Regions from separate parts of the Homo sapiens genome. Here region 2 is linked to region 1. The links are contacts of gene promoters, found by promoter capture Hi-C in blood cells and fetal thymus (Javierre and others, 2016). All regions are on one chromosome and are shown on one strand. Each heading gives the region's core, a stretch centred on a gene start or on the middle of the fragment in contact. The rest is flanking DNA. Distances are from core to core; before and after follow the strand shown.

What was found. Contacts are between HindIII fragments. The CHiCAGO score rates a contact against its expected background, and 5 or more counts as called.
Region 2: a fragment that was not itself captured here is called in contact with the fragment with the promoter of CMTM8 in region 1 in 1 of 17 cell types (non-activated CD4 T cells); the score reaches 6.7 in non-activated CD4 T cells.

What each region holds. Positions count from the first base shown.
Region 1 is chr3:32,234,761-32,242,171 of GRCh38, forward strand. It overlaps CMTM8 (CKLF like MARVEL transmembrane domain containing 8), which reads left to right and starts at 3,920. Exons shown (of 4, transcript NM_178868.5): 1 at 3,920-4,359. The coding sequence starts at 4,213. RefSeq lists a silencer at 3,724-3,933. The HindIII fragment of the contact is 4,195 bases long and covers 447-4,641 here.
Region 2 is chr3:32,467,132-32,473,697 of GRCh38, forward strand. No RefSeq gene overlaps it. Among named protein-coding and RNA genes, the nearest start is that of CMTM6, 32 kb to the right of the region's middle. RefSeq lists silencers at 556-625, 1,216-1,325. The HindIII fragment of the contact is 2,864 bases long and covers 3,380-6,243 here.

The DNA of each region.
Region 1 (7,411 bases), core at 2,670-5,169:
AAAAATGGGAATGTCCCTTGATCCTCTCTTTCTCAGAGAGCAGGTGGAAGTCATAAGCTGTCCATTTATTTCTTTCAATTATTAATGAGTCCTGGGCTTCCATTGAATGGCCTGGGCCCTACAGACCTTTGAGAGTGCTGTGTCTTATGACTTTGGTTGGTTGAGTAATATGGCCTTGTGGCATCCATATTTTAGACTCTGCATAAACCCTTAACCCTACACTCCATGCTAACAGATCTTAGATTTTTCTGTACTAATTTGCACAGGACCTGCTCATCCTGGCACATGTGGTATCACTTGGGCTGTACCTGTTTCCATTTTCTTCTCCATTTTTACAAATCAAATACTTCCCACAAGTCTCAGCTTGAAGCTGTCTTCTGTGTTAAGTCATTATGGGAGCCCAGGGCTTAGCTTTTCTTTTGACATTTTTCTGCACTTAAGAATGAAGCTTGGAGCCAGCATGGTGGCTCATGCCTGTAATCCCAGCACTTTGGGAGGCTGAGGTGGGAAGATCACTTGAGTTTAGGAATTTGAGACCAGCCTGGGCAACTAAGTGGGACCTCACCTCTACAAAGGATAAAAAACAAATTAGCTGGATGTAGTTGTGCCTGCCTGTAGTCCCAGCTACTCAGGTGGCTGAGTGGGGAGGATTGCTTAAGCCTAGGAGGTCAAGGCTGCAGTGAGCTGTGACTATGCCACTGCACTCCAGCCTGGGTGACAGAACAAGACCCTGTCTCCAAAAAAAAAAAAAAAAGTTTGGGCCTCAGCATTTGTTCAATACCTCCTATAGCAGGGGGCAGACAAGGAAGGGTAATTCATATATCTTGAGAAGTTGTAAAAGAAGTGCATAAAGTCAATGAATTCTAAAACAAAAAAGAAAATAACAACAGCTCATGGAAATCCAAAGAAACCACAGAAAAGGTGGCATTTAAAATGGGCCATGAAGACTGCAGATTGTGAGCTGTGTGTGAAGGTGGGAGGCTTTGTAGGCTAAGAGAAAAGCTGGCTATGGGCATAAAGTGGTCACACTTACAGTGATATATACAAAGTGTATCTGGGGCTGAAACAGTATGCATTCTAAAGTGGTTGAGAAAAGGGATCAGAAGAGATAGGCTGAATATCTTATATAGGCCCTTATGCTGTGCACAGTGGTACCTTAGTCTGGGGTTTCAGGACAATAATTCTTGCAGGAAGACGGAAGGTGGACTGGATAAGGGTGTTATTGGAAGAATGGGCACCAATCAGTAGAGTTTCAGGTGGAAGATAATCACCCAAATGTAGGCAGCAGTTGGAAAGGGGCAGCTAGTTTTCAAGCAACCAGTGTATAATTTTTTCTCTGTGATTCTGAAATCCCAAAAGCTGAAACCAAAATTTTTTTTCCTGAGCTTGCAGAAAACATATTTGGTAGAAAAACATAACCTAAACAGATGTGAAGCTATTTATTGTCTTTGTCTTTATCTCACCTAGATTAAAAGACAGCCACAATTCTTTACTGCTCCTCCCATCCACAGGTGGTATCTGTTTCCCCTCTGCGTGACTCTGGCTGGCCTTGTCATTCATTGGCTTAGACCAATAGAATGTGGTGGAAATGAGTCCGTGTAACCTTCAGGGCTGGGCCTTAAGAGATCTGCTTCTGCATTTGCCCCTCTTAGAAAGTCTCTTCCAGTAGCCAGCTGCCAGGTAGAAGTCCAACCACCATGAGCTTATCATACTGTTAGAAAGCCCAAGTTGAAAGGGCACTGAAATGCTCAAATGGGAATGAAGACTTTTTGGACTTTCTGGCCCTGCCAAGTCACCAACTGAAAGCAGCTGAGTAAATGACTCCAATCACACCATGCAAAGCAGAAGAACCTGCCAGCCAAGCCCTTCCCAAATTCCTGACACAACAGATTTCTGAGCAAATAAAATGGTGATTTTAAGCCACTAATATTTTGTGAACATTTATTACATTGCAGTAGATAATCCAAGCATACACTTATGTCATTCATGATTTCCCTTGCAGAAAATTAGTATATTAGAGTGTCACCCCAGACCTTACCAAAGGTATTATGTAATATATGGTACATGCACATTTTACCTTTCTAAATTGAAAAACAAAATCTGAATTTAGAAATTCATCTGACCCCAGGAATTTTAAGAGAGGATTGTCCTTTGTTAATATTATGGAAATAAAGTTGTCTAGACTCCGTCTTTTACGTTCACTAAATGTCATGCATAATGCTTGAGTCTCCTCCAGCCATTTCATGTATGTATCTCTTATTTCCCCAAACTCATTAACAGTTTCTCTAAAGCAGCAGCTAACTTCAGCATGCATCAGTGTCTTTTGGAGGGCTTGTTCAAACACAGCTTCCTGGCTCCACCCTCAGAGTTTCTGATTCAGAGGGTCTGGGGGTGGGGCTTGAGACCTTGCATTTTTGATAAGTTCCCAGGGAACTTACCTGCTGTTGGTCCAAGGACCACTTTGAGAACTACTGCTCCAGGGAGAAGTGCTATATTTTAAATTTTAAGAATTTACCCACCAGCCCAAGGTGCTTACCAAATGCACATGGATGGAATCTCTCCAAATCTACATCTTTGCCATGCTTTTGAAGCCTTAACTTTTACTCCTGGAGGTCTTCCTGGCTAGGCCCTAGACTTAAAAGACACTAATTCCTTGTTTTATTTTATTAGATTGTCGTTTTTGCTTTCTTCTCAGCACACTTGATAAGACACTGTGAAGAAAATGTCCCTTCTGATCTCGTTTTTAACCTGTCTTGGAACAGATCAGCAGAAATGCCTTCACTGTGAATCAAAGATACCCTCGATTTATAGCCAAAGATTATTTCCTTTTCTTTTGGTGGCTTCCAGATAAAATGTTTCTTGCTACCCTTTCACAAAATAGAAGGAGGGACCAAGCGGAAGATAATCTTTTTGTTCAGAGGTCCATCTGTCAAAGCCTGCATTTTAGAGATGGCATTACTGAGGTCCAAAAACTAGAGCCACTCGCTCTGGGTCATACAGCCGATAAACGCACGCAGCCGAGCTCAGTTCTTCCCTGACCCTGTTACAAACTGCCTCACTAAATGAGGACCCCCATCCCCTTCCCATGCCAGGAAAGCACAGCTCATTTGTCCTAAAGTTAACATTACACAAATCACACCCTTCAAGCCTTCTTGAAACATTTTTTTTCCCCGAGGGTGACGGGACGGTTACGCTGATTCATCCTGGCCAGGGACCCCAAACATCTCCCCTCCTCCGGCCCAGGCGCCGTCACCCAGGCTCCACCGGTCCGCGGGACAGAGCCGCGGAGAGCGCCTGGAAGCGTCGCGCCCTCAAAGCCAAGCGATTAAGTTGGTTCCTCAAATTGTTCCCGACAGGAGGGGCAGGAAATAACACCGGGCTCTGGCGGCGGCCGCAGCAGGAGGGGGAGAAGAGCGGGCCGTCTCCCGGGCAGTGCTGGCGGCCTCTCATCGATCTCGGGTCTAAGGTCCGGCCGGGTCATCATTCCTGCCATTTCCACAGCATTCGAGGTACCACATCACCCCCTGCCTCGGTCGTCGCTCAGTCATTCCCTCCGCGCCGAGTCCTGGAGCGGCGGAGTCCCTGGAGGCCTGGGTTTCCTTAAGGGGCCCCAATGCCCGCAGCCCCCGACCCGCCCAGGTGGAAGGAAACAGGCTGCGGGCCTGGGCCAGGCGGGGCCTGACAGAAGTAAAGGCCGGGAGGGGGAGCGGAAGACGGCCAGAAGGACCCCTGCGCCCTCTCCTCCGCGCCGCCCGCCAGGCTGCCAACCCAGCCACCCTGGGTGCGACGCGGCGCCTTCTCCGCCGCTGGGAGTCGGGCAACAGGTGAAGAGGGCGGGCGTCCGCGGCGCCTCCGCGGGGCGGTCCCTCTCCTGCCCGCCTCCCGCCCGCCCCTCTCCCCGCCCCCTCCCCTCCTCCGGGCCTCCACCGCCTTCCCCGGCTGCCCGGCAGCCTCCCCTCGCTCGCTCTCCTCTTCCTCTAGGGCCCCAGCGCAGCTCGGGAGCCCGCGCACCGAGGCGCTAGGGGCACCGCGCACTAGAGGGACACCCGCCGCGCCTGGACAGCCCCCGGCGGGCGCCCCCCTCGCACCTCCTGCCCCGCGCGGGCCGCGCTCCCCTCCCCCGCGCCTGTGTCCCCAGGGCGCAGGGCCGCGCGTCCAGCCCCAGACCCGCCGGGGTCCCTGGGGACGCGCCAGCCCGGCAGTGGCTCGACGATGGAGGAGCCGCAGCGCGCCCGCTCGCACACAGTCACCACCACCGCCAGCTCCTTCGCAGAGAACTTCTCCACCAGCAGCAGCAGCTTCGCCTACGACCGGGAGTTCCTCCGCACCCTGCCCGGCTTCCTCATCGTGGCCGAGATCGTGAGTGCCGACGGGCCGGGGGTGGCGGGGGGCTCAGCTGGACCCCGGCGCGTGCTTCCGCCGTGCTTCTCGGGATGGAGCCTGCTCAGATCTTCCCGCGGGCTTTAGGGAACCGTTTTTGCTCAGCCTCGCCTTCTTCCCAAAGTGAAAGACTCTAAACAAGGTCCAGGAAACTCGGGCTGTCCTGGGAAGAAAGGGTTGTGATCCTCAGGATGTCTTGCTGTGGGAGAAATTCAGCTTGTTGGGTCCTCTCGGTGGCGGCGGCAGATCCTGGGAGCAGGAAGCTTGGCTTAGTGGCTATTGAGTTTGTGTTGAGTGTCAGAGACACCTGGTGCCTTTCTCACCTGATCTCCACGTGGATGGCCTCCTCCCTGAAAATAAAGCTTCCTAAGATCAGGGGAAGAGGAAAGGGCTTCTTTCTTTTCCTAATTATCTCCCTGGTAGTAACATTGAGGTGAGTCAGGAAAATTTTACTGAATAAAATCTGAGTGCCATAACCTATTTTAGGACCAAAGAGGTCTTTTGCATGGTGCTGTGCACATCCTGGTTTAGGCTCAGAACATTCCTGGGAAGGAGGCAGGGCATGGGCGTTCTTCTCTTCATTGGAGGGCATAGAGGCTGAAAACTCACGTGATCTTCCCAGAAGTCCCAGCCAGTCCTTCATAGCTGAGAAAGGACTGGAGTCCTGTCAGCAGTTAGAGGTGGTCACTGTTTGAGTCTTCTTCGTGTACCAGGATCTTGTCAAGCCCTTTAGATGTCCTCATACCCTCGTGTAATCCAACGACCACCCTCCCCTGTGAAGGCCTAGAGAGGGGACGTAAATCACACCGGTGGATGGTGAAGCATGGATTCAAACCCAGGCCTGCCTTTCTGCAGGGCCGTGCTCATAACTGCAAGCAGTTGAGACAGCTTCCAGCTGCCCCAGCAGTGCCCCTCTGTCATCTCTCACAGACTTTTGTTAAATATTTGGGAATTGAAAATGAGCCTATGTGGGAGTTAGAGAATGGGCACACCATCATGGTGCAGAAGTGACTGAAGACCTGGGCGGTTCCTTTGAGAAACCTGAAGTAAATCTTGTGTACCTCAAGTAGCTTGCTTGCTCCCCCAGTCTCAGATACCACCCGGACCTGCTCTATGAAGCCCCTGGTGGTCATAATGCACATAAGGTATGAGAAGTGTTGGCTTAGCTCCTCTCCCAGCTGGTTCCCTCAGCGAGTATTGAGGACTTCAGGAGACTCAAAAGCTGAAGGTATTGGAATCGCCTTGCAGGGCCTAGCTTTTAGGAGTTCAACAAATATTTGCTGTGCAAATGAAGGAGTTGGCAGGCTCCTCTGCTTCAGCAGCGCAAACAAAAGCTAAAATGACAGAGATGGGCCTTCTACCTTGGGGTGGATTTGGGCCAGGCATGAAGTATAACGCCTTTGGGTTTTTTTCTGATTTATTATCGATATGCTCTGTGTACTGCGCTTTTTCAGGAAATACAAAAGTGAAAGAAATGTAAGTGGCCCACAATCCCATTACTAGAAATAATCACTGTTGACATGTTAGCATGTATCCTTTTAGATTTCATTAAGCGTTTTGAAAAAGATGGGAAAACATGTAAGCAAAATCACCCTTATTACTACTATAGTTTTTATTTTTGACAGAGCTAATTATGCACCTTTTTTGTTTGTTTTGTTTTGTTTTGAGACAGGGTTTTGCTCTGTCTCCCAGGCTGAGGTGCGGTGGCACCATCATGGTTCACTGCCGCCTTGACCTCTTGGGCTCAAGCGATCTTCCCATCTCAGCCTCCCAAGTAGCTGAGACCACAGGCATGCACCAACACACTTGGATAATTTTTAATTTTTTTCTAGGGACGGGGTCTCTCTGTGTTGCCCAGGCTGCTCTGAAACTCCTAGGCTCAAGCAATCCTCCTGCCTTGGCCTCCTAAGGTGCTGGGATTGTAGGCATGAACCACTGTGCCCCACCTTATGCACATATTTTAAAGATTCGGTCCTACAGGCAGAAATATAAGTTTCTCCCAGTGTCTTCATCTCTTTGAGCTCTAAACAACGTGTTTATAATGCTGTTTATTGGTGTTCCCTCACCCACCCAGTCATAGACATTATCCATTGCCTTTCTACTCTGAAAGATGAGGCTTTAGCTGGGATGCCCTCTTCCCTGCCTCCAATTATACATACCCTCTTCCTGTCTCCCAATATAGGTCCAAACACTTCTGATGGTTCAACTTAGGAATTTTCAGCTTTACAGATGTTGTAAAAGCAGTATGCATTCAGTAGAAATCATACTTCGAATTTTGAATTTTGGTCTTTTCCCAGGCTAATGATATTCGGTAGATATTTTTTCATGATGCTGGTCAGCTCTCAGCCACCCATGCCATCACCAGCGCAAACCACCCATCCTCTCCAGCATGCTGTGCTGCTGGGTGATTCTGCCAGCTGTAGGCTAACCTAAGTGTTCTGAGCACGTTTAAGATAGGCTAGGCTTAGCTATGATGTTTGGTAGGCTAGGGGTATTAAATGCATTTTTGACTTCGGATACTTTCCACTTAGGATGGGTTTATCAGGATGTAACCTCATTGTTAAGTCAAGGGGCATCTGTATAGTCTTCAGGTGATTTGGGTTAGATCAGCAGCCAGTGTTGACCTATGACACTGTAAATACCACTTACAACTGACCCAGTGCGTAGACTATGAATGCTTTTCCTTTCCTGCCCAATTTCTTGTTTGCCCTGGTGTTAGTAATTCTCTTTTCTCATTTCATAATTTCTCCAGATATTTAGTCACTAATTTAACCCTAGTTGTTTAAGTCTCCTATCAAGAAGCTGAGAGACATCAGGTATTCTGTCAGAATCGTCTTCATGACTGGCCTCTCTGGGAGCCTCTGGCCTGGTGGCCTGCACACAGCTGGCCGACTGGGCTCTCCTGCACCATCACTCTGAAGATTCTCTTCCTTTCTTTCCTGGGTTGGATCCTCTGCTTCCCATGTCCAGTGTCCTCTGTCTTGCTTTGCTCCCACTGGGGGGACACACAGCCTCTTGTAGTTTTCTAAGA
Region 2 (6,566 bases), core at 3,562-6,061, 230 kb after region 1:
GGGAGTTCAAGACCTCAAGACCAGCCTGACCAACATGGTGAAACCCTGTCTCTACTAAAAATACAAAATTAGCTGGGCGTGGTAGTGCATGCCTGTAATCCCAGCTACTCGGGAGGCTGAGGCAGGAGAATCACTTGAACCCAGGAGGCGGAGAGGTTGTGATGAGGCGAGATTGCACCATTGCACTCCAGCCTGGGCAAAAAGAGCGAAACTCCTTCTCAAAAAAATAAAATAAAAATAAAATAAAAAATACTCCACGTAGAGTTATGCAAAAAAGGAAATGTTACCACAGCATGAAGTGTGCCGCTTGGCTCAGTTGTGAATAGTGATAACAGCCAGAATAATGGTCACGCGGAATACTGATTTAACCGAAACTGTGACAAACCTCATCAGCCGGGCAGGGATGCGTGTGGAGCGAGCCGCTGGCCAAGTGCTGCCAGATGCCCCAAGTGACCCAGAGAAATGGTCATCTGGATTTCCACGCTAAACATTTCCCGATTTTTAAATGCTGCCAAGTATCTTTTCAAAGATACACTTCAGGCCAAACACACCTGCTGGGGGCTAGCTGAAGCAGCCAGCCCCAGTTTGCGATCCTGCCCAGGAGGGCCCTCAAGCGCTTGCCCCAGGGTCTTGGCAGTTCTCCGGAAAGTCGGGGCCCCGCCGGTCTGGCAGATGCTTCCTAGCGAACCCAGGGGCAGCGCGCTGGGCGGAGGCCCTCCCTGGGGAGCCCCCGGGGTCCCCGGCCAACAGCTGTGCCTGCTGCCACACCTCCCAGCTGGACACAGCTCTCCTGTAGCGAAAACAAAACCCACCAAGCAGGTGGCTGCAGGAGCCCGCGCGCAACGCGCCCGCTCCTGGCCGCGCACGCCCCCTGGCGGCCATCGGGAAGCATCGCCGCCGCGTTCCTTGGGGAGAGCCACGCCTCTGGGAAAGCTAAGAACTGTTCACATTAGAAGCATCCACTTGCACGGTTTTTTTGTTGCTGTTTTTTGGGGGGTTTTGTTGTTGTTGTTTTGTGGGTTTCTTTTTCTTTTTGAGACAGAGTCTAACTCTGTCACCCAGGCTGGAGTCCAGTGGCGGCACGATCTCGGCTCACTGCAACCTCCAACTCCCAGGTTCAAGCAATTCTCTTGCCTCAGCCTACCCAGTAGCTGGGATTACAGGCGCCCACCGCCACGCCCGGCTAATTTTTGTATTTTAGTAGAGACGGGGTTTCACCATGTTGGCCAGGCTGGTCTCAAACTCCTGACCTCATGATCCGCCCACCTCGGCCTCTCAAAGTGCTAGGATTACAGGCGTGAGCCACCGCGCCCGGCCTGCACGTTTTATTTGAACCTCAGGTACACAGATTAATCATCATCCTGAGTTCATAACACTCTTACACTCTAATCATGGTCCATGCATGGCCTCCTTCCTCCCTCCTTCCCTATTTTTTGTTTATAGTCAGCACTGAAGCTAGTCGTGACAACCTGCATTCAACTGTAACAATATGCTTCTTCAGTTCATCACCCTCCCATCTTTTTCCTCCCAAGGTAACCTCCCAAATCCCCCATTGATCACGGGCTTGCATTTCTTGTAATCTTGGTAGTTTATAATTAAATGGAAAAGATACCACACTGTATGTAATCTTTCAGGACTTTATTCACTTACCATTATGCAACATGTTACATCCTCTTGGCCTCACCTATCCCTTGATCCAGCCACCACTGCAGTGCTAGCCCTGCAAGGCCTACGACCATGTCATGCCAGCATAACCTGATAGCTGTGATTTGGGCCTTCAACTGTCACCTTGGCGCTTTCCTGTGGACACTGCCATGGGACCTGCTCAGCGGCCACACAGTGCAACTTGCAAGTGCTGCAGGGGAATTCACTCCCTGTGAGGTAACACTGACCAATGGGACACAGGAACCAGTGCGTGCATTCTTCCTCCTCCTCTCCTGGACCAGACCACCCTGAGGCACATTTTACACAGCTTCTCAGAGGACAGTCCTGTGGAATCGAGCAACCAATCACACAGTGGTGGCTAACTCAGTAATATCCTCATATTGGCTCACTCTCCTTCCCTGGTTCACTCATGATGATGGCTCAGCGGGCCACGTGGATACAAGCTGAAAATGTGTGCTGGCTGCACTAATAGTGTTATTTCAGGGGTAGCCTTGAAAGACAGCAGTGAAAGGAAACACTCCCAATGGGCAAAGCTCTGGGCAGTGCATCTGATCATCCGCTGGAAAGAAAATATACAGACTCAGGGAGTGGTGAACGGCTTGGCTGATTGGCCAGGGGACTGGAAAGAGAAAGACCGCAAGGCCCCAGAGGGATGAGTGAGACAAAACGAGTCTTCAGCCACTAAACTTCTCAAACAAGCAAGTCATTTGAACAAGAGGTGGATTTCTTACAAAATGCAAACTCTGAGTAATGAGGCCACTGCATATCAGAAAAAAAGCCCAGAAAAAAACCTGCATAATACATGTTATGACTGAAAGCCAGGTATGGATGGAATGAAAGGGACAGGCAGAGCTGGACTAGCTAGGGGGCTGTAAGGGTGCTCAGAACAGCAGATGACCTGATACAAAACCTGGAGTGGATGTCACAGTTCCTGTGGAGCAAAGATCTAAGTCTCAGCTGATACAACTCAGTCTGGGGCAAACGACAGCAGAGGGACAAGACTTAGATGTGGGGTTGCATCCCCAGATTCATTCCTACCCAGGAGGAAGTCCCAAATATTCCTAAACTTACTACATACTTGCTGTGGTTTTGTGAGGTGGTGTGTTGTGTGTGTGTGTGTGTCTGTGTGTGTGTGTGTTTGCCTGGATTGTGCTTCTCTTTTGCAAGAACCTGTTCACTGGATACATTTATTGTGACCCCTGTTGGTGACTCATATCAGGAGCAGTCAGATGCATGCCCAAGAATGGTGTTTACTCATAAAGCTTGCCAAGCATAACATTTGAAACAATGCCTCTTTCTGGGAGAAGAAAAAGTATTTGGTCTTCTCACACAGGTTTTATACCAACAGAGGTGCTATACAGCGCTTTCTTTTTTTGAGATGGAGTTCCGCTTTTATTGCCCAGCTGGAGTGCAATGGCGTGATCTCAGCTCACCACAACCTCCGCCTCCCAGGTTCAAACGATTCTCCTGCCTCAGCCTCCCGAGTAGCTGGGATTACAGACATGAGCCACCACACCTGGCTAATTTTTTTGTATTTTTACTAGAGACAGGGTTTCTCCATGTTGGTCAGGCTGGTCTTGAACTACCGACCTCAGGTGACCCACCTGCTTCAGCGTCCCAAAGGAGCCACCGTGCCCAGCCTATACAGAGCTTTCTTTAGCTGAACATCCCTGTCTGTCGAATGGATGCTGGGAACTCTACTGTGGATTAGGGAAGCTTCAAAAAGAGTGTGGCCATCTTTTGTTTCAATTGTGCTGACATAATAAAAATGAATGAATGTTTTGCTGCCATCCTACCTGGTACTTGGTTTGCAACCTAGGGTATTGCTAATGCATTATTTTAGATCTCCCTGTGGGGAATGTCAGTTTGCTTTCACGAGCACAGCATATAGCACACTTTTATTGCCCTGAATTTCCCAGTGATGTGGCATCAGTGGGTTGGACAAACCCAGCACAGTGTGAACTGCTGGTGTATGGGCAGGCATTTCCATCATGTCTGCACAAAGAAGACTGCTTTCAGGGCGTTACATGCCACCCAAGCACCACTGACGAAAGACAGGTGGGCCCTGAGCAAGGACAAAACCCAGGCGCTCTGCCTTTCAAGTGGTCATCTTGGGGGCTGTGTCACAGCTCAAATAGATATTTCACAATTAAATAAGGAAAACTTTGTAATAGCCACCAACTACAAAAGAAGAAGAAGGAGGAGGAGGAGGAAGAGGAAGAGGAAGAAGAAGAAGAAGAAGATAGAAGAAGGACAAGGAGGAGAGGAGGAGAGGAGGGGGAGGGGGAGGAGGAGGAGAAAAGAAGAAAAAAGAAAGAAGAAGAAGAAGAAAAGTGGCCCTACAGCAAAATTGGCCGCTGGATGGTACATCCCAAACCTAAGAATATTCCTACAGCTTCCATCCCCCAAGTCATCAGACATGTGGCCACATTTGCCCAAGAGCCTGAACAACAAAGAACCTAAGAATCAGCCCAGACAGCAGTAACAGAAGCCTTGCCCTAGAGCCTTTATTTCCTTTGGGTCAAGGAACTACAGGGGTCTGGGACTAACTGCACAGTTGATTAGAGCCTTTGGCAAACCAGACTTCTCTGGTTCTTCTTCTAGACTTTGACCTTTTGAACTTGAGGACTTCTTCCTGCTGCTGAGAAACAACGGCCAGCATCACTGAGCCCTGCCTACGCAAAACAGTCTTCAACTTGACATTCTCATCCTGCAATTCTGAACTAAGTTTCACAAATGGGTGGGACAAGCTCCAGAACATCCCATCACGAGAAGAAAATGGATCTTCCAATTAAGGGCCAAACCCAGCTCCTCAGCCTTTAGCCATCTTCAGGGTGGGTCAAACAGGTGGTGGCCCACCCAGGAGACAGAAATAGTGTCTTTCCTACTGTTTTACAAAAACTGCTGGTTTTATGAAGATGCCACCTATGAAACAGGCCACCTGACAAGAAAGCATCACTGAAGAAAGAGCCCACCCACCTCTGAGCAAGCAGGGCCTTTGGAATGCTACAGCCATCTAGTGATGGCGCAAGGGTGATGGCCCACAGCTTTGGGCACTCTGTGCAATGGGCTGAACTCCAGAAGGGATTTCTGGCCACAGAGAGTACTGCCCTAAGATTAAACATGCCACATGGGCTGTCACGAATGGCCCATCTGTATGGTCAGATCTTTGGGCCAACCAGGACTGGACCAGAAAAGACATACCGAATATTGGATGGCCCCTACCTTGGGGACATGTAACTATTTAATTACAAACTCAGTATCTATCTATATGGTTATATGAAGCAAACACATCTAGTGAAAAGCATTTAAAGTGAAAAAGTCAAACATATGTGGCCATCACCTCCACTACAGACCAATCAACCTGTGCTCAAATCCACCATATGCATGGAACCACCATAAAGGATTGAGATGCCCAGTGATCAATTATGGAGGCCATTGTTTTTTGTTTGTTTTTTTGAGACGGAGTCTCGCTTTGTCACCCAGGCTGGAGTGTAGTGGTGCAACCTCAGCTCACTGCAAGGTCCGCCTCCCGGGGTCATGCCATTCTCCTGCCTCAGCCTCCTGAGTAACTGGACTACAGGCGCCCGTATCACACCCAGCTAATTTTTTGTATTTTTTTTTTTTTTTAGTAGAGACAGGGTTACACCGTGTTCACCAGGATGGTTTTGATCTCCTGACCTCGTGATCTGCCCACCTCGGCCTCCCAAAGTGCTGGGCTTACAGGCGTGAGCCACCGCACCTGGCCGGAGGCCAGGTTTAACTGCAAAGACTATATTATTTGCCAGCTATACCAGACCCTTCAATGCTGACTTCCACAGGGACAGCTGGTCCACCTTCATCTACTTACAAGCTGCACAAGCTGATGATAATCACCTCTGCTTACCCGAGCTCCCTTCAATGGATAAATAGATGAATGGTTCATTTTGTTCAGATCTCTGTGGATAGACTAAAACTTGGATACTCTGTATCAGGTGTTCTATGGCCACCTTCCTCTGCCTGCTATGTACTTATGATAACAAAATGGCAACTCGTGGGTCCAGAAAAAGGACAACTTGAGTCATCCCTAAGACAGGATGACAGATCCCAACTGATCTGGTATAAATGTCTTGACCCTAGAAGTGCATGGAGGCCAAGGGGAAGTGAATCACTCTCTCTTTTTCTATTACAGGCATGAACAACAGTCCCAAATGTCCTTCTACGACTCTTCTAGTTCTCATGTTGTTAAATATGTCACCCCTGGCCCAGCCCAGCTGTAGAACCCCAAGGGTCAGGGGTTAAGACAAATTTGGATGGCATGGAGGTTTGTTTCCTCCCTCATTTTAGTAGCTTGTTGGAGAGATGGCTCAAAAGGTCCATATCAGCGCAGTGCACTAACATACTGAGTCTAGCCCCTGAACCTTTGAAGAGCCCTTTTTTGAATAAGGCCACTTACTATAACAGGGACTTTCATTCTTATAAAATTGCATAATCACTGTTGCCCCCTCCAACTTCCCTATAAACATGTAGAGCACCATGGGGCAGGTCCCTCTCTGCATGTAGTCTCTTTATGTCCAGCATAAATTGTGGGATAATGAAAGCTTGGGGAACCATGCGTACTCAACATTTTTTTTTTTTTTTTTTTTTTTTTTGAGACAAGGTCTCACACCGTCACCCAGGCTGGAGTGCAGTGGCATGATCTCGGCTCATTGCAGCCTCAAACTCCCAGGCTCAGGTGATCCTCCCACCTCAGTCTCCCAAGTAGCAAGGTCTATAGGCGCATGCCACCATACCTGGCTAATTTTTAAACATTTTTTGTAGAGACAGGGTTTTGCCATGCTGCCTAGGCTGCATACTCAACTTCTAATCTGCTCCTTTCCCCCAGCATATTAATTTTATCTGTACCACGAAGCACAGTGTCA